Linked DNA regions of Homo sapiens: all the other regions are linked to region 1. Evidence: promoter capture Hi-C in 16 types of primary human blood cells and fetal thymus (Javierre and others, 2016). All regions are on one chromosome and are shown on one strand. Each heading gives the region's core, a stretch centred on a gene start or on the middle of the fragment in contact. The rest is flanking DNA. Distances are from core to core; before and after follow the strand shown.

The links. The method cuts DNA at HindIII sites, captures the fragments that hold promoters and counts their contacts. A CHiCAGO score of 5 or more calls a contact.
Region 2: a fragment that was not itself captured here is called in contact with the fragment with the promoter of HMHB1 in region 1 in 7 of 17 cell types (erythroblasts, total B cells, non-activated CD4 T cells and 4 more); the score reaches 9.3 in erythroblasts.
Region 3: a contact is called between a fragment that was not itself captured here and the fragment with the promoter of HMHB1 in region 1, in 6 of 17 cell types (erythroblasts, total B cells, naive B cells and 3 more). The highest score is 7.4, in erythroblasts.
Region 4: a contact is called between a fragment that was not itself captured here and the fragment with the promoter of HMHB1 in region 1, in 1 of 17 cell types (naive CD4 T cells). The highest score is 5.4, in naive CD4 T cells.
Region 5: a contact is called between a fragment that was not itself captured here and the fragment with the promoter of HMHB1 in region 1, in 1 of 17 cell types (naive CD8 T cells). The highest score is 6.8, in naive CD8 T cells.
Region 6: a fragment that was not itself captured here is called in contact with the fragment with the promoter of HMHB1 in region 1 in 2 of 17 cell types (naive B cells and M2 macrophages); the score reaches 5.5 in naive B cells.
Region 7: a contact is called between a fragment that was not itself captured here and the fragment with the promoter of HMHB1 in region 1, in 1 of 17 cell types (M1 macrophages). The highest score is 5.4, in M1 macrophages.

What each region holds. Positions count from the first base shown.
Region 1 is chr5:143,810,450-143,814,569 of GRCh38, forward strand. HMHB1 (histocompatibility minor HB-1) reads left to right here and starts at 1,712. Exons shown (of 2, transcript NM_021182.3): 1 at 1,712-1,855. The coding sequence starts at 1,819. The HindIII fragment of the contact is 5,854 bases long and covers 1-4,120 here.
Region 2 is chr5:143,018,418-143,022,537 of GRCh38, forward strand. The region is part of intron 12 of ARHGAP26 (Rho GTPase activating protein 26); the gene reads left to right. Among named protein-coding and RNA genes, the nearest start is that of ARHGAP26-AS1, 150 kb to the left of the region's middle. RefSeq lists enhancers at 1,129-1,178, 1,599-1,808, 3,489-3,578. The HindIII fragment of the contact is 2,362 bases long and covers 850-3,211 here.
Region 3 is chr5:143,037,520-143,041,639 of GRCh38, forward strand. The region is part of intron 13 of ARHGAP26 (Rho GTPase activating protein 26); the gene reads left to right. Among named protein-coding and RNA genes, the nearest start is that of ARHGAP26-IT1, 150 kb to the right of the region's middle. RefSeq lists an enhancer at 1-154. The HindIII fragment of the contact is 3,509 bases long and covers 533-4,041 here.
Region 4 is chr5:143,077,678-143,081,797 of GRCh38, forward strand. The region is part of intron 17 of ARHGAP26 (Rho GTPase activating protein 26); the gene reads left to right. Among named protein-coding and RNA genes, the nearest start is that of ARHGAP26-IT1, 110 kb to the right of the region's middle. The HindIII fragment of the contact is 670 bases long and covers 1,473-2,142 here.
Region 5 is chr5:143,154,967-143,159,086 of GRCh38, forward strand. The region is part of intron 20 of ARHGAP26 (Rho GTPase activating protein 26); the gene reads left to right. Among named protein-coding and RNA genes, the nearest start is that of ARHGAP26-IT1, 35 kb to the right of the region's middle. The HindIII fragment of the contact is 1,943 bases long and covers 914-2,856 here.
Region 6 is chr5:143,230,399-143,234,518 of GRCh38, forward strand. No RefSeq gene overlaps it. Among named protein-coding and RNA genes, the nearest start is that of ARHGAP26-IT1, 40 kb to the left of the region's middle. The HindIII fragment of the contact is 6,240 bases long and covers 1-4,120 here.
Region 7 is chr5:143,272,740-143,276,859 of GRCh38, forward strand. No RefSeq gene overlaps it. Among named protein-coding and RNA genes, the nearest start is that of ARHGAP26-IT1, 82 kb to the left of the region's middle. The HindIII fragment of the contact is 6,040 bases long and covers 1-4,120 here.

The sequences.
Region 1 (4,120 bases), core at 462-2,961:
AGGTTGGGGTGCATTATTGGAGTGATCATGGCTTACTGCAGCCTCAAACTCCTGGGCTCAATTGATCCTCTGGCCTCAGCCTCCTGAGTAACTGAGGCTACATGTATGCACCACCGTGCCTGGCTAATTTTTTATTTTTTATTTATTATTTTTTTTTGTGTGGGGATGAGGTCTATGTTGACCAGGCTGGTTTCAAACTCCTGGGCTCAAGCGATCCTGCTGCCTTGGCCTCCCAAAGTGCTGGGAATTACAGGTGTGAGCCACAGTGCCTGGCTAAGATGGAGTTTTATATACAGAATTATCAGGCCTTCTTTCATATCTCATCCTCAATATGCAAATAACTAATTCATTTAGCAAATATTTATTGAACGTCCATTATGTATGAGGCACTATTGTAAGTATTGGAATAAGTGCAGTGAACAGGTCAGATATGGTAACTGCCTGGATGGAGTTTATGTTATAATGGAAGCAAATAGACACAAGAAATATGATCGCATCAGGTATTTATAAGTGTTATGGTGAAAATAATGCAGAGTAATCTAATCTAGGGAGTGAGAGGGTGACTAGGGTCACCCATGTGGTGGCTAGGTGCCTGGGTCTGGCGTTGCACTTCTTCCATTCAAATCCTGGCTCCATGCACCTCTGGCTCTATGGCCTTGTCCAGTTGTGCACTCTCTAAATCCCAGTTTTGTTACCTGTAAAATGGACATATTAACATTACCTACTTTAAAGAGGTGTTTTAAAGAAAATGGCTACTCCTAACATCTCCCCAAGAACCAAGCACAGAATTTTGGAAGTTTTAATATATTTTCTTAAAGAAGTCTCTTTCTCAGCATTGTAAGACAATTAACTAGATTCAAGTCTCAGAGTTGTTAAGTTATTTTATCTTAAGGCATCCAACGGCACAGATTGACATTAAAGTGAAAGAAGAACTAGCTTCATCATTGCCATTGTTCTTTACCATAGCCCATGGGAACACAGGACCCGGCTGACTGAGAAAAGTGAATGAGGGGAATTATATCAGAAATGACAGAGAAGGATGGGCAGGATTTCTGGCAGGCACAGGTATTTCTAAGTAAGAAATGGTGTGGTTAGGAGAGAATACTCTCAAGAAGGGGAGAGATGGATTCTGCGGCAAAGGGAGGTTCCTTCATTCAGTGTTTATGGAGAGAATAAAGGCGCTGGCCCCTCCAGTGAGGATATGGAGTAAACGAGACAATCAAGTCCATCACTCCTGGAGCCTGCATTCTAGTGTGGAAGACAGACAGCAAATGATACATCAACATTAAGAAATTCATGAGTAAATAAAGATAATTTCAGGCAATAATAATTACTCTGAAGAACATAAACAGGGACCTATGATAGAAAAGGGGTGTAAAGGAGTTTGGAGGATTTAAGCTGAGTGAGCAATCTCATCTCTATTTTGATAAGGTCACTGTGGATTCTGTGTGGATAACACATTGGATGTGGATAAGAACAGGAGCAGAGAGACCTCCAATAGCAGGAGGCTGCTCTAGGGGTCCTTGCAAGGGATGCTGGCAGCTTGGACCCGAGTGGTGGGATGCAGATGGAAGAGGCAGGTGGACAGATGAGACAGCTGAAGCAGGAAAAGCAGGCACAAAGGCTAACACAACACAATGTAACAGAACGGGAGTTTAGAACGGAAGGAACACTCCAGAGTCATTCTGGTCCAATTCTGCAGATGAGGAAACCACATCCCAGGAGGCCGAGGCGGCTTGCCCCGCATCTCAGAAGCCGGGCAGGCCCTGAGCCTTCTGACCTCACATCCTCTGCCACACCACAGTGGAGAAACCAGAACTGGAGGAGCAGCCAGAATGCAGAGAAGAAAAAAGAGGTGAGGGAGCGAGGAGGAGGGAGAACAGAGAGAGAGGGAAAGAGGCAGCGAAGGGGCAGAGAAAATGAAAGAAAATGCTGGTGGAATGAGAGGGAAACCACAACAGGTGAAAACAGGGATGGCGGAAGGCAGGGGAGAGGAGTGAGACGGCCCTTGTTGCTGGGATTATTTAGGGCGGATAGTTTCCAGTTGAGGTTCGGTTTCATAGCCCATTGCCTGGCTGCCTGCAGCTGTCAGGGCACCAGAGGCAGCAGTTGGAGCAGCTGCCTGCACCACCTGAGCCACAAGGACAACGGCAAGGGAAGTGCAGATGGGCAGGAAGTCCCTCTGGGTCGGAGCCAGGGTAGCCAAGATCACATTGTTCTTGCCCACCGCGTGGGATGCTCAGGCTTCCCAAGGCAGCCCAGAGACCAGACCCGTCCTTTATCCTTAGCATGGCCACCATCATCACCATCATCGCCATGCTCCCACTTCTTAGGATCATGTGCCGGGGGCTTTGCATGCATTTCTCTCTTTCATCCTCACAGAAGCACTTGAGGGGGGTATAGCTTTCCCCAGTTTACAGATAAAGACACGATGGCTTCATTCCTTAACTCACTAACCTCATTTCAGAGCCAGGAAATGGCAGAAAGGCCCTGCTGTCGTGTTTTTTGTTTGTTTGTTTGTTTTTTTGTCTTGTTTTCTCCTCTTGAAGAGGACACACGGAGCCCTGGGTTGACGTTATAGGAGGTGTTGGTGCCGTGCACTGAAGGGATCTGCTGTTTTCTCCTTCCTGCAACTGGAGGTCACTCAGCCTGGACTGATGAGGCCGGGGAAGCCTGTGCTCTGTCTGGTCCACACAGCCCCCTCAGCCACCCCAGGGAATGCTCAGATCCAGTTGCACAGGTAGCCCACAGAATACAAACAGAACTTTCTTTTAGAATTTTTATGCTGTTTTATTGTTTCATACAGACAACTACCGACCTTCCCTTTTTTCCTTCAAGGCCCCTTTCAAATGTCACCTCTTCTATGAAGGTTTTATTTCTTTCCAGGCAAAATAAACCACTCCCTTTTTGGTGCCCTCATAGTTTTACATTTTGGCCTAAAGCACTTGTTCGCCTCCTCCATCAGAGCATGGGATTCTTGAGGGAAGGAACTGTGTTTTAATCATTTCTGTATCCTTGGCATCTAGCACAGTGCTTGGCACAGTAAAAGCTGTCAATAAATGTTAGCTGAACTGAAAAGTAAAAAATGGAAAGGGCATTTGTTGGGGCCAGCATAAGTCAACTGTTTCCATCCTTGTTTCCTTAACTCAGAAACTCAAATGAAGAAAGACATTGTCAGTCTCATGAGCAGTCCATATTTTTTTTTATTGGTGAGAGATAAAGTAAATGGCATGTGGATTTCCTTTGGAAGAATAACAAATAAAATTCTTTTGTAAGGATGTGAATTATAAAATTAACTTTTTTTATCTCCAGATTGTCATTTTGCAAGGAAAAAAATATAAGTAATAAATATGAACATACCTTTTTTATTTCAGACTTTTGCTCCATAGGCAATAGAAATGAGATGGCCAATTACAGTATTGAAGCAGAAGTACAGATATAACTCAGTGCAGAGGCAAATATGGCACATGATATTTTCATATTTTTATGTGTTACTATGAGTAACACTATTGCAAATTCATTTTATTTATGATTTGGTCTTTGTAGCTCCAATTTCATTATTAACTGAAATTTCATAGCATCATTCTTACTGACATGCATTGAAGATAAAAATGTTCTATATTTTCCTCATCTATCCTTGTCTTTTTCTTTATTAAAAATGTAGCCATTGGCAAAATAAAAGAACTAGCAATAAGCATACTGAAATCACAACTGAGACACATGACAATAATCTATAACCATGACACCTGTCCAGGCTGCATCCAGCCAAATATGGATCCAAAAAAAGGAATACTCATATTTGTTACTTATATTTTTTTCCTTGCAAAATAACAATTTGGAGATAACAAAAAGTTAATTTTATAACTCATATCCTTATAAAATACTTTTATTTGTTATTCTTTGTCTCTCGTCAATAGAAAAAAATATGGACCGCTCATGAAATTGACAATGTCTTTCTTTATTTGAGTTTTTGAGTTAAGGAATAAGGATGGAAACAGTTGACTTACACTGGCCCCAACAAATGCTCTTTCCATTTTTTGCGTTTCAGTTCATAGTAGGAGCTCACTCAGGACTTAGCTGTCAGAGAGAGGACAGTCTGAGGCCTATGTGCACTTCCCAG
Region 2 (4,120 bases), core at 781-3,280, 790 kb before region 1:
ACCCATGTCACAAAGATGTGTACCTATGTTTTCTTTTATTGGCTTTATGAGTGTGTCTTGCACATTTAAGTTTCTAATCTAGCTGATTTCCACCACTGTATGAGATGTTCCATGAAGATCCATTCTTATTTTTATCCTTGGGAAGAGTTAGTTTTCCTATCAACATCTACTAAGCTATCCATTCTTCCCTCGATTGATTTGTAGTGCCAGTGTTCTTGCATTTTAGGTTTGCATATTTTAGTTCTGTCTCTGAGCCCTTTATTCAGGTTTTTTGTGTAGCTGTTTTTGTCCCAATACCTCTCTGTTTTTAATAATAACTTTGAGGCAACTCTTAATATCTAGTTATATAAGTCTCCTCTATTTATTCTCCCTTTTGAGGTTTGACTTGGGTATTTATGAGTCTTTATCCTTCTGTATAAATTCTATAATAAGTTTAAGAAGTTTCCCCTAAAATAAAATTTTTCTTTGCGAGTGCATTGAATCATACAGGTTATTTGGAGAAAGTTGACACCTTTGTAATATTAAGTCATGTCTTCCAAGGGTTTTGAATGTCTTTCCATTTATTCAGACCACCAGTGTTTTTTATTAGGATTTTATTTTTCTGCCTAGAGATCGTGTGTGCTCCTGGTCAAGTTAATCCCTAAATACTAAATTTAAAAACCAATATTTTATTTTGCCAGCCCTGCTACCCATGGGGACCCTTCCTGGATTTGCTTCTAGAATGTCAGGAATCTATATCAGTGACACCAGATTCTCTAATTTGTCAAACTCTTACCTAGTAGAGAAGGGAAGGGGAAAAAGGGAGTATTGGTAATAAAGAAGAAGAAAGTATGATATTGTTTCTTCTTAAGCTTTTTTTTTTGAGGAAGTGGTCACTGCCAGTGTCAGTCACCTAGTTATCTGATACTTGTCATTGATTCGTCCCTTTCATTATTACAAAGAACAAGACTTCCCTGGGCAAGAACCATTTCTCCCATCTCACCCGCTGCAGCCCCGTTTGCTGTATCTCTCGATGTCTTTTTGTCTTTTTGCTGTTCCCTACCTTTGGGTACAAGGTAGGGAATATCTTTAGGGAGTTATAAAATTTACTCCCCAAAGACTATGAGAATTGGTTCATTTTTCTTTGTAATGAGTCCAGGTTGGAAGCAGGATGAGAGGCCTGTTCTCAGCTCAGGCTGCTATTGTCCTGCCGTCCCACCTGAGGGAAGGTTAGAAAGCCGAGAACTTGTCAGAGAGAACACACCAGTCCAGTGCAAGGGAGTAAGAGAAGGGCAGGCTCTTACAGTGTGAGTTGGTCTTTTCCAAGTTTGATGTTTTAAATAACAAATGTCACTGCCTACTTAACTCTAAAAAGATTAGCTTGTTTACAAGAATGCTGCCCTCCCACTGTTTCTCCAGCTGCTTGAAGGCTGAAGTCTGACAGATTGAGGCAGAGAGGGCTCAGTCTCCTAATCTTGACTTTATAGTGCCACTTTCCTCAATGTGGGTATTAACTCAGATTCCATAGGTTAATCGGGTTATGTTGAAAGGAATATGCTGAAGTTGCTGCAGGCATGCCTTCTCATGCATGTCAGGACCTGGCTTAACACTGGCCATCTGGCTTTTCAGAATGCCATTTTGTAGTTCACTCCACTTCTCACTCTTGTTCAACATTTTCCTGTTACTCCCACCTGGATCTTGTGCCGGATGAAACTGCAGGAGTCCAGGCTTCCTGTAGCTCTTCCTTCAGTGAATGCCTCTAGAAGTTCTTGGACTCCTGGCCTCACGTGATCCTTCCATCTTGGCCTCCCAAAGTGCTGGGATTATAGGCATGAGCCACCACGCCCAGCCTTCTGGGAGTTCTTAAGGGCAGGTGGCACTGAGATATATGAGTACCGAGAGGTAAGGACACTCATAACTAGAACACACATCTGTCTCTACCTTTAAAGCTCATGTGATCTGCTGTGGAGGTTCAGACCACAGGGGAACAATAGACAGATGGCCCAATTACATCGTGTGGGTGTATGTCATATTCAAACCATCTACAGAAGTACCCAGGGTGCAGACTACATGCCCAGAGCTCATGGATTTGAGAGTGAGCTACACTTGAAAAATGGAAATTTCCTCCCTTCTCTCCTCCCCAGAAGAAGAAAAAATATAACACTTCCTCCTCTTTGCATCCAAGTCCTAGTCCTTTCTTTCCTTGTGGTTTGTTTTTAATCTAGTGCTCTAGTGCTTTTTTTTTTTTTTTTTTTTTTTTGAGATGGAGTCTTGCTCTGTTGCCCAGGCTGGAGTGCAGTGGCATGATCTCCGCTCACTGCAAGCTCCCCCTCCCGGGTTCACGCCATTCTCCTGCCTCAGCCTCCCAAGTAGCTGGGACTACAGGCACCCGCCCTCACGCCCGGCTAATTTTTTTGTAGTTTTTAGTAGAGACAGGGTTTCACCGTGTTAGCCAGGATGGTCTCGATCTGCTGACCTCATGATCCGCCCATCTCGGCCTCCCAAAGTGCTGGGATTACAGGCGTGAGCCACTGCACCTGGCCTAATCTAGTGCTTTTATAAGAATCCTTTATATTTGAATAAAAATGCTGAAGAACCCACTGCAGTTTGCCAATTTGTCATTCACACTGGGAGGTGGGGAGAAGAGCAGTGATTGAAGAAGGAAATATGAACTCATTGTAGAATATTACAGAAATACAGCAAAATGATTTTGAAACATTCAGTCAAAAATCATTGGTAATATTATTCCCAGAGATACTTCCTTCTTGCCTTTTTTAAATGATGTCTTGTATGTATTTTGTCAATGTCAGTATGAATTTTAATTTAACTGGCATTATGTTGAATATGCTTGTTGTATTCTGCTTTAAAAATTACAGACATTTTCTGATGTCATGAAATGTTTAGAAGTATCACCTGTCATGGTTGTTTAATATTCTGTCATTGGACTATATCTTAATTTGTTGAATCATTTATCATTGTTAGACTAATGCTCTTTCCAGGTTTTTGGTATTACAAATAACATTGGCCTATGTTATTCATAATAGCTTCAAAAGTTATTAATTTCATCAGTTATTGGCCTTGTACATCAGCCTTTGTACGTATCTCAGATCATTCTCTTTGGGTAGATTCCGCCACGTGGATTAGAGAGAGGGTTTGCATGGAGGAGTAATGTGTGGCTGGTGTAGAATAGCATCCTGGGTGTAGAACTTTGGACAGGTGGTGCGCCTCTCTAAGCTTCCATTTCCTCTTCTGTAAAATGGGGATAATAATACCCCTGCTTCATAAACTCATTGTAAGAATGAAAGTTCAGCACATTAGTATCTGCACATTAGTTGGTAAGTGCCTAATTACTCTTGGTTATTACTCTTATCATCTGGCCAGGCCAGTTACTCCCACAACAAAAGGAAAAACCCACTGGAAAGGAAAAGCCAGCTGGATTGGTAACACTGCTCTTGAAGGGAGGAAGACAACCTGCTACTGTTTCTCAGTCTTGGTGCTTTATGAGTGTTCATTCATTTAATCCTCGTTACTGTATTTCTCAAAGTGGGGTGTGCACACCACTGGTGGTACACTAGGTCATTTGAGAGAGTATATTTTAAATTACCATCTAGACTTCTGTATTTATTTTGATGTGTATTGTGGGGGAACATAAGTTCTCTGAAATCCCCTGATTTTATTTTGTTTTATTTCATTTATTTTTTTGAGACCCCTGTCACCCAGGCTGGAGTGCAGTGGTGTGATCACGGCTCACTGCAACCTCCGCCTCCTGGGCTCAGGTGATTCTCCTGCCTCAACCTCCCTAGTAGCTGGGATTACAGGTGCCTGCTACCACACCTGGCTAATTTTTTTTATTTTTAGTAGAGATGGGGTTTCACCATGTTGGCCAGGCTGGTCTCGGACTCCTGACCTCAGGTGATCCGCCTGCCTCGGCCTCCCAAAGTGTTGGGATTACAGGCATGAGCCACTGCGCCTGGCCAATCCCCTGATTTTACAAATGTTATTGCTTAGCACAGGGGTCCACTTTTTTTAGTAAAGGGCCAGATAGTAAATATTTTTATTTTTATAGGAGTATTCAACTCCGCTATGGTAGTGTGAAAGCAGTCACAGACAATATGGAAATGAGCAGGTGTGGGTGTTTTCC
Region 3 (4,120 bases), core at 1,037-3,536, 770 kb before region 1:
CGATTTTTAAAATATTAAAAAACACAGGGTATCATGATATATGTGTTTCTTTGTTAACACTTTATAAGTGATAGTGGTGGGTCTGATAACTGACATAATTTGGGAGCAGTGATATTTCAAGATATCCATAATAATTGTAATGTGTTATGAAAATATCTGTGATTTCTGACCAAGTTGCAGGTACCGCTAATGCTCCTGTAATTTGTTGCTTACATCCATAAAGGAAGGAAATGCTTAATGTCAGTTATAGGTTAGTGAAGATAAAGATGTAATTGTTTTCCTGTCTAAGTTCACAGACACCCTAAATTTTCTCTGGCAGACATCTTGGGGTCTGTGAACCCAAGATGCTCTGGGGAGCTAGTCCCTGGGGACCACCCAGGTAGAGAAAAGGGGTCAGGCCCATGTTCACACTGATCTTTCCCAGGTCTGTGGGAGCAGGACATTAAGATCAAGGAGGCTGGTTCATCCTGATGGTCTCCATCCCTTCTTCAGAGACAGCCACAAAGGAGATTCCTCAGTCCCAGCAGTTTGAAGCTTTGAGTTTGCTGGTCTGTTGTACCGCTGAGAAAAGCTATTAACCATCTTTCCACTGGATTTGATTTGAACCGTTGTCAGAGATGTGAATCTTATTTACTCACAGCCTCTCAGCCTACCAGCCCTTTTTAAGTAGTGGAAAGAAATTCTCTCTTTTAAAGCAGGATTCATAACTTGCCAGTTGAGAAATATACACTTTTTTTTCCATAAGGACTGTGAGGCATTAAGTAGAGGGAAGAGAGAGAATTTAAAAACCTACCCTTATGTATACTGTCAAAAGATATTTTTTCCAAAACAGTTGTAATGTATGGAAACATTTTTTAAAATGTTCAGTTATTTCCCCTGTACCTCTCTTAAATAAAGAATTAAGGCATCTTGTAAAGGTATGTAAGATATATCCAGAGAATATAAAGTAGAAGTAGGTGACATTTCTGGGAATTGGTCTTGAGGAAATAAGGATATGGGCCAGATTGAGCCATAAGGATGTTTACACCGTGGTGATGTTAAGGTACAAAATCAGAAACGGGCCAAATGTCTCAAAAATGGGTTAAATCAACAGTGGTACATCTGTGTAGTAAAAAACTGTGAATCACTGACAATGCAATGGAAATACATTTTTTGACATACGGCCTTTTTTTTTTTTTTTTTTTTTTTTTTTTTTGAGACAGAGTCTCTTTCTGTCCCCAGGCTGGAGTGCAGTAATGCAGTCTCGGTTCACTGCAAACTCCAACTCCCTGGTTCAAGGGATTCTTCTGCCTCAGCCTCCTGAGTAGCTGGGATTACGGGCACACACCACCACGTCCAGCTAATTTTTGTATTTTTAATAGAGATGGGGTTTCACCATGTTGGCCAGGATGGTCTCGATCTCCTGATCTTGTGATCCACCCACCTCGGTCTCCCAAAGTGCTGGGATTACAGACATATGGCATTTTAAAAATTATTTATAATACGTGAAAAATGCAAGTTACAAAGCAGCTGCTCAGTATGAGCCCGTTCTGGGAGCAGTGGGGAGAGGAGTGGTCATATTGCACAGGTTTCATTGTGTTCTCAGTGGCTGTCTGCTGATTTTTACTGTTTCCCTTTGACTCATCTATTTACCTTAACTGTAGTTTCTAAGTTTTTTTGAAGTGTTCATTACTAAGGTAATTTTTCTTTTTTCTTTTTCTTTGGAGGGGACAGAGTCTTGCTCTGTTGCTTAGGCTGGAGTGCAGTGGCTCAATCTCTACTCACTGCAACCTTGGCCTCACAGGTTCAAGCGATTCTCCTACCTCAGCCTCCTGAGTAACTGGCATTACAGGCGCCTGCCACCATGCCCAGCTAATTTTTGTACTTTTAGTAGAGATGGTTTTACCACATTGGCCAGGCTGGTCTTCAACTCCTGACCTCAAGTGATCTGCCCACCTTGGCCTCCCCAAAGTGCTGGGATTACAGGCATGAGCCACTGTGCACGGTCTAACTTTCAACAGGAGTTTTAATTTTTTTTTTTAAATTTAAAAGAAAAGACCGAGAATAAAATGTACAGAGTTTAAAGGTAGAGGCACAAAAATGGAGCCAAAAGCGAGTCTAAAAAAAAAAAATCTCTTTCCCCAGTAAAGTTCATATACTTGCTTGAGCTGGGCCACCTATTCGTCTCTCAGTCTTCAGCAGCCAAAATCAAGAGAGAAACCTAATCATTTAAAACTGTTCACAGAGTCTGTAGTAAATGCAAACTGGTAGCTCAGGAGGACAACTTTTTCTGATGTAAAACTACAAAATAAATACAATAAGTAGGAGAAGAAGAGGTGTACAAGTTCCTCTTCCCCCTCTAAAATGAAAATGGAAATGATGTATTTTAACTTCTACGAAAGTCTTCATTGAGCACAAAGAAGAAATAAGGACAGTATGAGTTAGGTGCCATTTTAGCGTAAATAGTTGAAAAAAGTGGGTATCTCCCGATTGCAGTGTGTGTATGTGCATACGTATTTATGGTGATCAGAGATGAACAGACTTCCCATACTCTCTGGGATTTGACAATTGTCCAGTGGGAGGTGGGATTGTGTAAAGTCCCGGGAAAGCACAAGGATAGAAGAAGTAGAGACACTTAAGACTTTTCAAGCCCACAAGCTGACATGTTACTGAATCAAGTTTCTGCCACTGAGTAACTTGGGACCCATCACTTAGTTTTTGAAGTTTTTGACCAGGGACTCCTAGTCCGTGAATCATGCAGAATGATGTACATGATTTTACAGGTCCTTTTTAGCTGTAAAATTCTATCATTCCAGACCACTTCTTTTTATTCATTAGTTCCATGTCTACATAGGTCTTGTTGAAAGTACTGCAGAATTGGTCCTTTCCTGAGTTTCTTTTGGAAGATTGTGTTTTGGCCCCCAAGTATTTTATACTGGCCTTGATGGAGTATAATCTCGTGTTTTGTTTATTATCATGTACCATATACTGATCCAGGGACTGAGGATGTAATGGTGAACAGGACACAATTACTGTTTACATTCTATTGAGAATGTAACAGAAAAAACAAGTAAATAATCAAATAACAAACATAATTTCAGATATTGTTAACTGCTATAAAGAAAGAAAACAGGGTAAGGGAATGACCAGTAATGTTGATTGTGGATTGCATTAGATTGAAGCGGTTGCATTTAAGCTGAGATCTGAATGATGAAAAGCTCTGGGAGAAGAGCAGTCCAGGTAGAGGAAACAGCTGGAGCAAAGGCTATGAGGTGGGGCCATGAGCTTGGCATGTTGAGGTGACAGGAAGGCCAGTGTGTGGAGCAGAATGCATGTGGTCAATGATGCAATCAGAGGTAGTCAGTGCTCGATAGTATAGGCCTTATAGGCCATTGTAAGTAGTTTTGATTATGGTCTAAGTGCAATGGGAAGCTATTGGAGGGTTTTAAGAGAAGAGGTGATATGAACTAATTTGCACTTTAGACAGTTCACTTTGGCTACTGGTTGAAGAATGGACATCAGAGGAATAAAATAGGAAGCTGGAGCTCTATTACTTGAGAGGGGTCAGATATGATGGGCCTGGAACTAATAGGAGAAAAATCATTTCAAGTCACCTGGTCTAAATTGCCTTCTTTTGTAAATGGTACAGTGGTGATCTAATCCATGTATTTAAATGAACAGAAACACTGCAGTGGATTAGTTTTTGATTTTTTGTTTAGATGTTTAATTTAAAAGTAAACCCTTACTAGTCTAATTGTACAGTTCCTTGGGTTGAAATAAAGGTGGTCTTTTTTGATAAAGAATATTTGTATTATAAATGAATGGATCTTCTAATTTCTCAGTCTTGGCTAACATTCCTTAAAATTAAAAACATTCTTACACCTCCGTATTTTCATTTTTTGTGTAAAAATAGATTATAAAGTGTCTTTTTCTGTTGTATGAATTTTTAATGTCATTTTTGGCATTTTAATTTTAAAAATTGGTTAAATATGACATATTTAAAAGTGTACATTTTGCATCTTTTAGAACTCTTCAGATGCTGCCTTTGGCAAGAGAAAGGAAAGCTTCTTTCGCCGCTGATGACTGAACTAACATGAGGGCTGAAGTGTGCAGCACATCCGTGAAATCCTAGACAGCTGTA
Region 4 (4,120 bases), core at 558-3,057, 730 kb before region 1:
CCAGCGTCTTTGTGGAAAGTCTCTCTTGAGGATGGGTCTGAAATGTCTGACTGTTGTGAGCAATTTCTAAAAGTAAACTGTGCAATCAAAGAGAAGTCTGTCTTTCTGACCTTGGGTCTGCATAGCTATTCGGACCACCTAGAGGGTTCGAAGGCCAAGAGTAGGGTGGGGCTGTAGCTGTTGGTGCCTAGGCTCTTCTTTTCTGGGATGCAGACTGAGCATATCTCCCCTCCCCCAACCCTGGTTTCCAGGAATCTCCTTAAGCCCCTGATTGCCTCTCACCTTTGCTGCCAGCCTCTAAAGGCCAGTTCATCTCTGCATGCCCTCTCCTATATTCTACCACCATTGAAATGAACAAACTATTGTATTTTCTCACCTTCTGTGAGTGGACAGGAAGAAGGGAGGGAGGAAGCTAGCAGGCTAGTCAACCAAGAAAGAAAAACCTTAACAAAGTTTAGGTTCCTGCATTACCCAGCCAATCATGTTACGCTAACTCAATAAAAAATGAAGTTTCATTGCAGGGAAAGTAAGTCAGGACACCAAAATGATGTGTTAGCAGGGCTGGGCCTAGGGCGAGGCAGAAGAGACACCTGGGTGCAAAATTGAAGGAGGCAATAACCTGCAACCATCCCGAGAGTGAGTGAGGGCCTCTTTAAATGTGGCCTGGGTGTGTCTCCTGTCTAACTCTAGTCCTGCCCCTGCTGGATTTCAATTCGGATTTTGGTTTTTTATTTTGGTCAGTATCCAGACCTGAGTGTGTCCGTTTTATTCCCTCGGCTGTGGACACTGATGGACCGTGCTAGAGAAGAGATTGATTCAGTCTGCTTTTAGTTTGCCATCTCAGACTACATCTGGAATTTTATAGCAGTTGGGCGGGGTGGGGGAGGTTTTCAGATAATAGTATTTTGTTTCAGAGAAAACTTTTCAGGAATGTGTCTTGCTGGTAAGCAGAGACAATTGACAATTGCTTCTCTCCTATTAACATCAATAATTTAAACCTGTCCTAGAACTTAAATTATAATTGAGGCAAGAGGCAGATATTCAGACATATTCATTGAAAGCTGGCCTGTGTCCAACTGTGGTGAAATAAGACAGGTGGGTTTGATTGGCCTAAGAGGTGGAAAAATCAACTTTAGAGACTTTCTTAGCATCTGAGCTCTTTGGGTTCTTAAATACTTTCTTGATGGCTGACTGGTGAAACCGGTGGTTATGGTAGCATCACTAAACATACATGGCATTTTTATTTCAAGAAACCAAACTTCCAGACATGCACCTGATATCTTGATTGTGCTCTGCAAATGCAGAGTAATTTCCAGCTGGATCAGTAAAGGATAATATTGGCTGTGGGAAAAGTGCTAGGATTATTACTTTATCTTATCATGTGTTTAACTTTTCCTTTGTTTTCACATAACTAGTCTGCAGAAGGCCTGTCTCTCCCTCCTTTAACTTGTGCTCTCTTGGGAGTGCTTACAAGCTTTGTCATGTCTGAGTGCAAAGTCAGTTTGGAAATGGTAGAGGGATGGGAGGGCACAAAGGATCTATAGAGTTGGGCAACCAAACAAGTTAGGTGGAGGAAGCCTATGAAACATTATTTTTCTCAGACATCTACTGTGAAGTAAGCGCTTTCTCCTTTGGAGACTGCTAGAGCAGAAACCTCCCCATTTTTCTCCTTCTCTGTTTCCAGCGTCCTCTATGTGTCTATAAACACCTTTGCTACCAGGCTACGATTCTTTGGTCTTTGTAGTCGGCACGGGAGAAAGGCAGGCAGGGAGATCACCCAGGAAGCTCCCTTTGCCTTTTCAGAGTTAACGGTGCTGTGCAGCTGATTTGATTATTACATTTAACTGAAAAAACCTGCAGGGTGTGCCAGACACGGGACAACCAGCCTGGTATTGTCGGCCCCATACAAACCCTTCTCACTGTCAGACCGGATTAAACGAACATGTTTTTAAATATATTTACCTTGTTCAGGTCTTGGAGCAAGCACTTGCTTCATCTCAATGACTCCTTGGGATATTGTTATGTGTACATTGGACCTATTTTACCTGTGGACTCGTTTCCCTATAGCCTTAGCATGGTAACATTGGTGGAAATTGATCCAGTGGTGCAGCGTGCCTAGGGAAAGTGAGCTTGTTTGACAGAAGCTTTGCAGGGCCTAGGGAGAATCTAGAGATAGATGAGATGCAGGATTCTCCTGGTGCCCAAAGCCTAGGCTCATGTTGCCTCACATGGTCTTCTCCCTCTTTAAAAGACCAAGCCAGCTGTCACATAGCTCCAGAGCATCTGGATGGGGAGGATATACTGGGGAGCCTCAGGAGTATGACCTACCTCTGGATAGTGGGGGACCTTACACTATTCAAACACAAGTTCAGATGGCCATTCTAGTAGGTGAGTCCTGGTCACTCTTTTGCCTATAAGATGGGAGCTGACCTTTATATGTAGGACTGCTAGGAGCCTTTCACTTATTCATTCTTCAAATATGGGGATGCCTATTATATACCAAGTGCTATTCTAGGCATGGGGATATAGCAGTGCCCAAGACAGAGTCCCTGCTGTCTTAGAGCTTAAAGTTAAATTGAGGCAAGATGCAGATATTTGCACATATTCATTGAGTACCTACTCCGGATTTACGACCTGTGAATACAGTGGTAAATTTTTTTAAAAAATAGAAGTATAGACTAAATCCATTATAAAGATAATTTCAGGTGGTGGTAAGTGCCCTCAGGTAAGAGTAAGCCCAAGTATTGAGGATGGACAAGGAGCTGTGTTAGGCCAAGTGGTCAGGGAAGGCTCTCTGAGGAGGTAGCATTTAAGCCATGACCTGAATGAAGTGAGAGAGCAAAGCCCTGTGAAGAGGTAGAGGAAGGTTCCTCCAGGAAGAGGGAACAGCAAGTGCAAAAACCCTGGGAAAGGCACCTGCTTGGTGTGGAAACACCCTGGGCGTGGTCACGGAACAGTAAGATCTGTGTGGTACAAGCTGAGTTTGCAGAGCTAAGCAGGGGCCAGATGAAGTGGTAGCTTGGGGACCTCAGGAAGAAGTTTGAATTCTGTTCTAATTGTAATGGGGAGCCACTGGAGGGTTCTGAGGGTGTGAATGGCACAATCTGTGGTGAGGGTGTTTCTTTTCCCAAGGACACCCAGTTGCTCTATGGCAAATGAGCTGAACAGGAGCTAGTGTGGTGTTGGGGAGGCTGAAGCAGTAGTGCAGATGAAAGACACTGGGGCCTGGACTAGGGTAGTAGTGGTGGAAATGCTGAACAGTGGGCACATTTGGGATATATTTTTAAAGATAAGGCCAACAGGATTAACCAATGAGCTAGATGTGATATGTGTAGGGAAGGGGGATAAAGGATGACTCCTGGGTTTTTGGCCTTCACTGGGGGAGAAACGGAGGTCTTGTCTTGTTTTATTGTTGTGGTGGAGTGGGTGGGTGTTGGGGTAAAGACACCAAAAGTTCTACTGAGAGCTCTCAGCATACAGATTATTCTTTCTTGTATATCAACCACAGGACTGATGAGATCACTGAGGGCAGGTCTGTGGATAGAGGAGGAGAGGAGCCAGGACAGAGTCCTGGGGCTCTACAGCATTTAGAAGTGGGAAGAGGAGGGTCTGGCAGTGAAGATGGGAAGGAACAGCCTGGGATCAGAGCAGAGCCTTTGGCTGTATTCTAGTCAGGACTCACACCATAGAGAATAAAATAAAATCAAACTCTGGAAGACTAAGCACGCTGTTTGGGGAATATATTACTTGGTTGCTTTAAGACAATGACCTATGTTTTCCATTGATGTAATTGGAAATGGCACAGTTTTGAAGAGTGGAAGTCCTGGAGTCAAACAGACCTGAGTTCAAATTCCATTTATAGCACTTACCAGCTGGGGGACCTCCAGAAAATTACCTACCATCCGAAGACGGTGAAAACAGAGGTGTCCTTGTTTATAAAATGGGAAGAATAATAGGATCCATCTCAGAGTCAGTGTTGTCAAGATTGAGTTGATGCATGCAAAGTGCATATCCAGTTTCTGGCATGGAGTAAGGGCTTAAAAATGGTAGCTTTTGCTGGGAGCAGTGGCTCACGCCTGTAATCCCAGCACTCTGGGAGGCCGAGGCCGGCGGATCACAA
Region 5 (4,120 bases), core at 635-3,134, 660 kb before region 1:
ATGTGGGGCTTTGAAAGAGGAAGTTTTCCTCTGTGGCTGGATCAACTTTTTGTGGAGAAGGATCTTTCCTTTTAGATGGAGAATTCTGTTTCTCACCCACCTCCAAGCAGAAAAGATCTCTTCAGACCGATTTGCCTGAAAAGTTGGTGACATTCCCCACCTTTGGAAATAACCTGAACGCCTCATTGTTTTCAAAAGGATTCATTTGCCCCTCCTTGCTCCCCACAGTGCCCTTGGGGATTCCAGCTTACTTACTCGTTCATTGTTGTTTCTTGGACATGCCAGATACCCTCCCTCTGTCACCTCAGGCTCCTGGGCTGTGGAGGCCACAGCTCTGCCCTGTAACTAGGCCACGTTTCCTTGACATTTTCAGTTTGTTACTGGTGTGACCCATTTTCTGAGTGGCTTCATGTCCACTTTTCTCTTTCCCTAAGCAAGATCTCACTCATCAATCGGGAGCCCAGCTGGGCTTCCCTTGGTTGAGGGTGGAAATTCCTGCCTTCATCCAATTTTTATGAGATAAATGTGTTGGTTATTAGTGGTGGTTCTTCTTTTTTAAAATATAAAAATTGCTTGAGACAGACCTCACACTTGGTGACCCAGCAGGGTTTCTTTCCCAAGCACCAGGGACCCATCGGTGGCACTTGGATCTCTACAGCCTGTCAGCAGAGGGGGTATGGGAGGAGGTAAGGGCAGAGCGCCGTTTGAATGCCTAGCCACATCCCTGTTTTCCAGCAGAGTGGAAATCACAAATGGAAAAATGTTTTCCTTTACACATATTGTTCTGTTCTTTTCTCCTGTACAAGCTAAAATCATATAAAGGGTCTGTATTTTTTCTATAAACTTATAAATCTTGCTAAATAACCTAAAACAGTTTCCAAAAATTGCCCTGACATACACAGTACATGCTTAAAGCTTTGGAGTTTAATTAAAGGTATGAATGACTGAATTTCATTTTGAATTTAGCTGCCCTCAAATGCCTTATGACACTGTATTTTATTTGTGTAAGTGTTAGGCATTTTAAATCTCAAATTTTTGGTAGAATATTTGGGAAGGAAATAGGCTTAAGATTTCGCATGGCTTTTTCAACATTGTTATGCCTGTGAGGGAACTTTGAAGGAAATCTAAAGTGTTATTTTTCTTATTTAGGATTAGATTAGAATTGTTTCTACCTCTGTGTATTTAATCTGAGGGATCTTATTCGTAGATTCAGATTCTAAATTGGGTAAATTAAAAGTACATTAGAGTTCAAGTACTGCTTTTGAAACCTTTTTTAGTCAATCTGGAAAGCAGATGCTTACTTAGCTAGGAAAGCATTCCTAGTTGGAAACAGCCTTAGAATCTTGTTTTTAACTCCTTCTCTGCATTAGGGATCTGGAAAGCCAGGCAGGATCAACCATAGGCTTCATTTGGTCTCTGTTACACTGGTCTTCCAAGGCAGACCCTTAGCTCTGTGCACTGGTTCTCAGAGTGTGGTCCTGGGACCAGCATCATTGGTGTTACCTGGGAGCCTGTTAGATCTACAGAATCTCAGGCCTCACCCTAGACCTATAGGATCAGCATATTCTGGAAGGAGGGCCCTGCAATCTGTGTTTTACCAAACCCTGCAGATGATTCTGATACATGCTCAAGTCTGAGAGCCATAGTGCATAGTGATCTAGTGCGTTAAGCTCATGGACTTCCACCAGAATAAAATCAGGACTTACCTCAGTGTAAAGCTCTCAGGGCCAAGCCTGTGTCATCACCAGCACCCTATGATTGTCTGTGCAGTGATGACAGTACTGGGGCTTAACTGAGCTCTGCCCGTGGCCTTTGGGATCAGTCACAGCTTATATAGCTGAGGAGGGATGGGTTTGCTTTTCACAGGAACCTATTAGCTCACCAGGGCTGCACTTTCCATCTCCCCCCAAAAGCCCAGTCAGCTGCTTCGCAAATGCGTGCCTGTTGGTTACAAATCAAGACAGGGTGGGTGCATCAATTAATCAAGCCAGTAGATGTTTTTATTGTTTATCTATTGTGTGTGTAACATGAAAAGATCAAGATGCTGGTATTGACAGAAAAATAGCTCTCAGGCTATGTGATACTGAAGGTGATGGATGAGCATCGGCGTGGACAGATTAGAGATGTCTAAATCAGCATTTCCCAAACTGGTACAGGAAGGGAAGGGGGCAAGAGCTGCTTTGGACTAAGTTCAACACATTCTTTCTTTTTTTTTTTTTTTTTTTCTCGAGACAGAGTCTCACTCTGTCATCCAGGCTGGAGGTCAGTGGTGTAATCTTAGCCCACTGCAACCTCCACATCCTGGGTTCAAGCAATTCTCCCACCTCAGCCTCCCAAGTAGCTGGGACTACAGGTGCACACCTCCACATCCAGCTAATTTTTATATGTTTTGGCAGAGACAGCGTTTCACCATGTTGGCCAGGCTGGTCTTGAACTCCTGACCTCAAGTGATCCACCTGCCTCAGCCTCCCAAAATGCTGGGACTACAGGCGTGAGCCACCATGCCTGGCCAGTTCAACAAATTATTGACTAGAGAACTTCTGAGCCTTTAATATGTCCATCTTGAAGGGGCATCTCTTACGCTACATTTCCTAAATACGTTGACCATAGTACATGATTTCTACAGCACTTCTCTTAAGCCTCTTGAAAGAGCATTCCATGGTTTGGGAAATGCTATTCTAAATCGACATTCTACTTTTGAGGGGGGAAAATGTATTTCTCATAATGGATGGCATTACTATGGTAGAGATCCTTTCAGAGAACAGAGATTTTGTTTATATATAAGTGTATGGCCACAAATAGCTTTCCGAAGACTGAAATGGGTTATAGGGTTATATCACGTGAAAAGCATTGGTAAGCTTTAGAATCTGGGGCAGGGCAAAGCCTGTGTGGCCTGATTGTGGATCTACCAGGGTCAAGCCTCAGCTCTGCCATTTCCTAACTGTGTAAACTTGGGAAAGTTATTTGCTATCTCTAAGCTAAACCTCTTCAGTGAAATGGTAGCAATAATAATAATACCTACTTTCAAGGTTATAAGATAATGCCTTCCTAACACTTAGTAAATGGCCTCGTTCAGAGTATCAATCAATAAAACCAATCAATAAAAATTGGTTTCTACTATTATTTTTATTCCTTCTTCTTATTTGCTCTCAGACTGCTCCCCCTACCAATGAACAAACCCCTAGTGTTGATTTCTTTCCGTGGTGGCAGTGGATGGACACTCAATGTTTACTTTTGTTTATTTGTTTGATCCTGATGTAACATAAAGCAACCCAGATTAAAAACATTGATATAATTTTAAAAAGGAATTAAAATACCCCAAATTAAATTAACTATAAATAATAAAATACACTGAAATCAATAGAAGTGCTCCTCTTCCAAGACAGGCATCGAACTGTTTACACAAAGAGCGTTGGTCAAAGCCCCCTACCCTATTGTTCCTCCGTTGGGTGGAGCCAACTGGAAACTACGCTGATTAGGCTAGAAACTAATTGCAATCTCAACTCTCCACTGGGGAAGAATTTAGCCTCAGGAATTCCTCTCCAGCCTAGGACTCTGTGTTGATTTGACTGTCATTATGGCAAAAGGGAAAAGAGCTTCTGAAAAAAAAATTATCTGGAAATGTAGCATCTTAGTCATTCACTGCATTTGCACTATCAAATTCTCTTCTAATATCTATCACCTTCCTTCACAAGGAAGCAGTGGAGTTCTCACTAAGACATTGCTTTAATGTTCCTTCTAATATTCTTTATGAAGTAAAGGCAGCTGGTGATGGGGCTATTCCCTGGCTGTTGTCAAAAATACTCAGAAAAGGGATAAAATAGCTGCATTACAGACTACCCTATTACCTCTTGTTGCCCTATACAGGAGAAGCCTTGTCTTCAGGGAAAACCAAGATGTTATTGTCCACAAACAAACAAACAAACAAAGGCAAAGGTGTTCATTCAAGGTTGATGTATTAGGATCCTAAGAAGAAACTTTGGTGCATTCAAAATAACATAACTCAAGGAGGGTTTATTAACAAAAGAGTTGGTGCCGAGGAATCACAAGAGATAGTAGAGTAAGCCAGGGCTAGCAGCTGCTGCCCAGTCACCACCCTTAGCTGAGAGAACATGAGAGG
Region 6 (4,120 bases), core at 629-3,128, 580 kb before region 1:
TATGCGGGGTTAGTCAGTGTTGGCTGACTGCAGCCTGCACAGCAGCCAAGGGAGGCTCTAACCTCCATGGTAACTGCTCGGGGTGGGTGAGGTTTGTCACATGGAGGAGCTTTGCATAACCATCCGCAGGGAAGGGGCATGCCCATGCCGGGATGCATCCTTCAGAAAGCCACCCTGCGGTACCCAGTCAACATCAGACAGTGAGGACCAAAGCCAGAAGGTTTTAAGTTGAAATGATCAACACGGAGACCCTCTGTATCCCACAGCACTTAGCAACTCCTGTCGCACTGTAAATCTGTCACGTCTCTTACGTCATTGGCTCCATGAAGCCTGCTGCAACTTCCTATTAGCTGAAAGCCAGGTAGCTTTGATGCCTTCCCCAGGCCAACCAGCAAATTAGTAAAAACGTGAGTCCATGGGTTCTTTCTTTAGGTGCCAAATCACATCTTACCCTCCAGGTCTTGTGCCCACCGTAAACTTGAAATATTTGTTCTGACACTGTGGCTGGATGTCCTTTTGGGATTTGTGGGTGGGGGTAGATTATTGGAAAGAATTATTAACTGTTTTTCTACCTTTTCTGAATCTTCGTGACAAAGAAAAGGAGTAGTCATGCTTGCCTCACCTGTGATGAGCAAGTTGAAATTATGGCCGTAGAGGATGGCCATCTTTCTGTTACACCTTTTCTCCTATCACACCATTTTTCTCCCTCATGTACTTTCTACCTATAATTAATTCATGATTTGTCATCAAATGTTTGAGGCCCATCTTGCTCTTAATAAACAGCTCAGTTAGGACAGAGACCAGGTCTTGTTCATCTCTGCCCAGTACCCAGCCCAGGGCTGGCATGCAGCAGGTGCTCATAGCCCCTGGGTGGGCTGACCAAGGGGAAAAAAAGTGGGGAAAGCACTGCACTAGAAGGCAGTTCCTCCTCCCTGTTTTACTCTACAGTTATAGTTGGAAGAAAGAAATTGCATGTTATTACACTTGGGTACTTGAACACAGGGTAACTTTGTGACCCTTGGCAAAACGCACCATTTGCTCACATACTGGGATTGGAGCTTGTGGGAGGAAGACCTCCCACCCTCCACTCAGGCACACACAGCCACATTCTTTCCCAGCCTCCTTGGCTGGTGCTGGGCACAAGAAACCATCTGGAGAAGCAGCTGACCAAGAGCCCGAGACCCTGTGCTGTCATCTGGGTTACTTAGGGGTTGTTTCATGAACCTTATGTGAAAAGGGCCTGCCTTCAAGCAAAACCACATCAGAATCACCCCCAAACATAAAAGAAGTATTCCTTTGTAAAGTCCCTTCACGGAAATTCCACACTGTCCCACAGGAGTTTGGTCTGATATCTAACACTCTCACTGAGGGAATTCTTTGGGTCTGACTGAAGTTTCCCATGTGGCAGCTTAAGTCCATTTCCGTTCTGTTTTTCCTTACAGTGGGGAGTAACTGGCCATGGCCCATTGAGAGCAATCACCCTCGATTTTTTATGTTTCCATTCAGCCATCAGTTATTGACCACCTCTTCCATGCCGGAGCTGCTACAACCAGGAAGTGTAAGACATGATCTCTGTCTTCAGGGAACTCAAAATTGGCTTCTGCCATAGGGAAATATACAAGGAACAGCGTTTGCCATGTGGTATGACCATACTAGCAGTGTGTGGCAGGTAGTGCAGTGCGATGAGGAAGAGGCATCCTTCCTACTGGGAAATAGGAACCAGAGAAAGTTTCACGGAAGAGGTGGCATTCAAGATGGACCTTGAAAGATAGAGAAGAGTTTCCCACTTAGGCAAATGGAGACATGTCCCAAGCAGAAGGACAGCAAGGATCAAGAATGAAGGGGGGAGAGAGAGAAATGGGGAAGGTGGGAGTGGGGAGAAAGAGCAGAGAGAGAGAGGTGGCTGGGTGGTTAGGTATGATTTCAATGTGACTGAAACATGAGGAGTCAGGGCTTTCTGGAGAATTGAAAACTCTAGTCACCCTTACCCACCCCGCCTGTTAGCCTTTAGGCTCTGTTTTCTCTCAATGACTGACAATATTAGCTAACATTTAACTAGGTACCTAACGCTGTACTATATTAATCACTGAATCCCCAAGACATTTGAATGAAGTTCTATAATCATCTATAATTATAGATGAGAAAACTGAGGATCAGGGAGGTCACACAAGCCAGGTGGCGGTGAACCTAAAGTTCAAACACAGGTCTCTCTGCTTCTACAGCCCATATGACTTTTTTTTTTTTTTTGGAGATGGAGTCTCAGTCTGTTGCCCAGGCTAGAGTGCAGTGGTGTGATTCCAGCTCACTGCAGCCTCCACCTCCTCGATTCCAGCAATTCTCCTGCCTCAGCCTCCTGAGTAGTTGGCATTACAGGTGCAAGCCACCATGCCCAGCTAATTTTTGTATTTTATTTATTTATTTATTTATTTATTTTCAGTAGAGACAGTGTTTCACCATGTTGGCCAGGCTGGTCTCGAACTCCTGACCTCAGGCAATCTGCCTGCCTCAGCCTCCCAATGTGCTGGGACCATATGACCTTTTAAAACTTCCAAATTTATTTATAGATACACACACATAATTTTACATAAATGCATAATCACATCACACGTGATCACTTTAAAATTTCGTGGCAGTTTTTCCTTCTGGTTTTGATTTGGTTCTTCCATCCCCCACATCAGCCTCCTCCCTTTGCAGAACCCATGTTGACAACCTCATTTTGCCCTTCTCAGCAGTGAGCCCTTCAGAAAGCACAATCTCTGGCACACACTCAGCTTTGGTTTTCCAGTGGCAGGAATAAGAGCAGGAAATGTTTGGATTAAAAATTTTCTTTCCTTCTAGGAGCCCTCTGCTTACTCATCTTGGGTGAATAGTTCCCCATTTCTTGAGCTCTGTGCAGATACTCCTCATTCCCTGGGCAGCCCCGGGGACTCCAGCTGCAAGTGTTGGCCAGTCACTTCATCTTTGGGGATGTGGCATGGAGGCAGCCCCCACAGAGGGCCCAGCCGTGCTTTGCTGGCTGGAAATATGTAATGTGAAATTTTTAAAAAATTTAACAATGTGAGGCCGGACACGGTGGCTCACGACTGTAATCCCAGCACTTTGGGAGGCTGAGGCGGGCGGATCACGAGGTCAGGAGATGGAGACCATCCTGACTAACATGGTGAAACCCCGTCTCTACTAAAAATACAAAGAATTAGCCGGGCGTGGTGGCAGGTGCCTATAGTCCCAGCTACTTGGGAGGCTGAGGCCGGAGAATGGTGTGAACCCAGGAGGCAGAGCTTGCAGTGAGCCGAGATTGCGCCACTGCGCTCCAGCCTGGGCAACAGACCCAGACTCCATCTCAAAAAAAAAAAAAAAAAAAAAAAAAACTTAACGATGTGAAAATGGCTCCTTTCTCCACCCCGATCCAGCTGCCGACAACAGACCTTCAGGCTCTATGGGATTGCCAGGGAAATCCCATGAGCGTGTGTCTTCTTCTGGGAGAACCAGTGTGTTTCTAACCCGATCTTCTAATGCTTAAAAATAGATCATTTTCATGGCATTTGAACCCCCTCTTGAGCCTAATGAGATTTAAAGAAGTCAGAGCTAGCAGAGAGAGCACGAAGACTCAAAGCAGATGATGGGTGAGTATCTGTAGGGCACAGGAATAGTGGGAGTCAACTAAGGTGGGCTTACTGAGCAAGACTCTCACTCAAGTCTCCTACACTCCCTGAAGGGGGCTAAACTGTTGCATGTTAAGAGGCCAGTGATGAAGTCTGTCTCATTGATGGAGCACTTCCATGTTATGGGCATTGTACTAATTGCTCTACATTAGTCTCATTTAATTCTCAAATCAGCTCATGAAATAGGTGCTGTTGTTACCCTATTTTGTAGATGAAGAAGCCAAACATTAGATTGGGCAACTTGTTCAAAGTCACAGAGTTAATAAATAACAGAGCAGAGAATCAACCCCAGTGGGCTGACACTAGAGCTTAACGCTTAACTCCCATACTCTTGACGCTCTTAATTCCCGTACTATTCTCACTCTGGGAACGATCTCAGAAGCTCCACTCCCCAAACGTCCTTCACTTCTTTCACCCCAAGGGAATATCTTTTGTTTTGTCTGCTTGGCATCCAGTAC
Region 7 (4,120 bases), core at 748-3,247, 540 kb before region 1:
CTTTTATCTCTCTTTCTTGCCTGATGGCATTGGCTGGAGACACCAGTAAAATAGTGTATGAAAGTGGTGAGAGCAGACCATGTTTTGCTACTGTTCTTAAGAGGAAAGTATCCATGAAGTATGTATAATGCTGGAAGATAATTTTTTTGTGTGTGATGCCCTTTATTAGGTTGAGGAGGTTCCTTCTATTTCTAGTTTGCTGATCTTTTTTTTTTTTTTAATTCAGAGTGTATGTTAGATTTTGTCAAATGGTTTGTCTGGCATCTTAATCACATGGATTTTTTCTTTTCCACTATTGTGAATTGCATTGGTTGATTTGTAAATGCTAAGTCAAACCTATATTCCTGAGATAATCCTTTGGTCATGATGTATCTTCCTTTAATATATTATTATATTCTATTTGCTAAGATTTTGGTTAGAACTTTTACATTTATGTTCATGAGGGATATTAGTGTGCAGTTTTCTTATATTTTGTCTAATTTTGTTATCAGAATAATGAAGACCTCATGGAATTAGTTGAGAAGTATTCCCCCCGCTTCAGCTTTTTTGGAAGTTTCTGTAGAATTGGCAAATAACAGAACAGCCTCCCTCAGCCTTATGCATAGCTTTGATTAATTAAGAAATGCAGGGTTGGAAATTTGTGTGCAGTTACTGTGTTCATACTGCTCTTCATCATTTGCCTCACTTCTATACATTTTTGGGGACAGCATTAAAAAATTCCCCTTCTCTTAGATTTTCATGAGGACTTAAAAAACAGCTAACGTGTATTGAATGCTTGCTATATGGTAGGAGTTGAGCTAAGCAGCTACATATATTTTTCAGATGTAGAAACAGATATAAAGTGATTATGGAATTTTCTCAAAATCACAGACTTAGTAAATAAAGAAGCAAGGCTTGAACCCAGATTTGTTTATTCCGAAGTTGTAAGACCACTAAGGTCTTAACAGTTATTAACACTTAGAATTCATACAAGACATGAGTAGTCATGTATATGCTGTGAGTTTTTTTACTTGTCATGTTGGTGATCTCTTTGTACATGGTTGCCCTCTCTGGGGATGGGTAGAACATATGACTAATTAAACATTACAGGGGCATCCATTAATATTAAACGAGTAAGGCTTTGTGCTGCTGAACTCCAGCTCATCCTTTAACATGTAGCACAATGAAGACATCTTCTGACAGGCTTTCCAAAAAAAATAGCTGCACTTGTTTTAGTGCATTCAAAGTGCATTTAGTGCATTTGTACCTGCTTTTGATACAACTGAATGGCAATTACACATTTGCTTGGCTGCCTCTATTTTTAATACGTATTTATTGAGATTTAATTTATATACCATATAAAATCCACCCATTTTAAGTGTAGCATTTATTAAATGTACAGAATTGCACAACCATTACTACAGTCTAGTTTTAGAACATTTCCATCACCCCCAAAAGTACCCTCATGTGCCCATTTGCACTTAAACCCTAATATTATCCCTAGCCATAGGAAACCACTGATGTGCTTTCTTTCTCTATATAGATTTGCCTTTTTTGAACGTTTCATGTAAGTGAAATAATATATGGTCCTTTTGTGTCTGGATTCTTTTACTTAGCATGATTTTGAGGTTCGTCACTTTTTTTTTTTTTTTTTGAGACGAAGTCTCACTCTGCTGCCACAGGCTGGAGTGCTATGACACGATCTTGGCTCACTGCAACTGCCACCTCCCTGGTTCAAGCAATTCTTCCACCTCAGCCTCCCGAGTAGCTGGGACTACAGGCGAGCGCTACCACACTCAGCTAATATATATATATATTTTTGAGATGAAGTTTCGCTCTTTTTGTCCAGGCTGGTGTGCAATGACGCTATCTCGGCTCACCACAACCTCTGCCTCCCGGGTTCAAGCAATTCTCCTGCTTCAGCCTCCCAAGTAGCTGGGATTACAGGCATGCGCCACCCGGCTAATTTTGTATTTTTAGTAGAGACAGGGTTTCTCCATGTTGTTCAGGCTGGTCTCAAACTCCCGACCTCAGGTGATCCACCCGCCTTGTCCTCCCAAAGTGCTGGGATTACAGGCGTGAGCCACCGTGCCCGGCCAATTTTTTTGTATTTTTCATAGAGACAGGGTTTCACCATGTTGGCCAGACTGGTATCGAACTCCTGACCTCAAGTGATCCACCTGCCTTGGCCTTCCAAAGTGCTGGAATTACAGATATGAACCACCGTGCCCAGCCACATTTTGTGTGCCACATTTTGTTTATCTGTACATTGGTTGATGGATATTTGAATTGTTTCCACTTTTTGACTATTAAGAATAATGCTGCTAAGAATATTTGCATGCAAGTCATTTGTGTGGACACGTTTTCATCTCTTCTGAGTAGATACATAGGAGTAGAATTGCTTAGTCATTTGCCTTTCATCTTTAATTCCTTGAGGGCAGGAACCTCTCCTTGGAGTCTTAGTATTGCCTTAGTGGTCTTTGAATTGCTTCATCTAGCATGCTTGCCACATAGTAGGTCTTGAAATTGATCAGGTGGTGTTTGTGACATATTCTCCTGTTTTGTGAGCCTTTGCTTGCTTTTATGCACACTGTCCCCCTTTCTTGCCATATTGAAAGAGTTTCATTTTTATCTTGATTCTTTGCAATCCTAGTGAACAACTGTAGAGGTTTTGGATGACCTAGATTTTTATTTCTAGCAAAACCCCATGTATATACTCAGTACTTTTAAGACAATGCAACTTTAACAAAAATAGAAAAACGTGTGCCTTATTTACATTATATACACATTATTACCCTATTGAATATTTTTGGTGAGGGTACATAAGGTGAACAGAATATAAATTGTCTCTTACTCAAGTGGGTAGAGTGAAGAAAGTCTTTTGAGTGTCTGATATGGTCTGCACAAACTCTTTTGTTCTGAGACTTACATGTTTGTAACCAAGTGAAGTAAAAATACTTCCCTAACAAAGTACTGCCCCATTTTAACTAGGAAACAGGAAGCCTAAATAAGAGGGAGGATGGGGTTATTTCACCAGAAAGAAAGTGCTATGAAGTTACCAATACTGTTAAGAACGACTTAAGTTAAAAGAGATTAGTTGAAATTCTAAAAAAAAAAAAAAAAAAAAAAAATCACCTTATGTAAAAGCCTCAGTATTTTCAACTTTTTTTCTACACCCAAAGTCTGGCTCTTTACCTGCAAAACTAGGAGCAAATTTTAACTTGCACTATAGTTCTCATTTATAAACAACTTTCTTCCTTGGTTTGACTGTACCCTATATGCTCCATATCACTTGAAGAAATGTTTGATTTTTCTGTGGGCATTAGTGAGACAGGCTCCCTGTTGTATATTAGACAAACCAAAGGGCATTCTGTAATCTGTGGGCAACTAGTATTTTCCACCATCAACCACCCCAGGGTACAGGACACGTTTTTAAGAGAAGGAAATACAATAGTGCCCGCCTTATCTGCGGTTTCACTTTCCGTGGTCTCAGTTACCCTCAGTATAGTACGATTTTTTGAGAGCTCACATTCACATAACTTTTATTACAGTATATTGTTGTAATTGAGTTATTGTTAATCTCTTGCTGCATCTAATTTGTAAATTAACTTTATCATAGGTATGTAATATAGGAAAAAACATGCAGTTCAGTACTATCTATGTTTCAGGCATCCATTGGGAGTCTTGGAACATATCCTCCGTAGATAAGCGGGGACTAATGTATCATTGTTAAATTTCTAAGTCAAAATTGATACGGTAGCAAAAGGGATTAGATTAAATGAGGACATGTCAAAAGGCCAGACACATAATGATCAATATGGGTTCATTCGCCCTAGTTAGCTCATATTAGTAATTTCTCAATAGTGGTTTTTAAAACTATGGATTCTGGAGCTAGCTTTGTGACTGTAGGCAAGTTACTCAATTCTTTAAGCCACAGTTTCCTGATATAAATGCAATGAGGATAATAGCACTGCTTTACAGTAGTACTTTAGAGGGGTACTATGATTAAATGAAATAATATATTGAATTATCATTGTGCGTGGCACATAGTAAGTGCTCAGTAAAGCATTAGTTTAATTTAAAACAGAAAAACATAACCAGTTCCCTGAGAGGCTCATAGGCCAGAGACATGCTCTTTGAC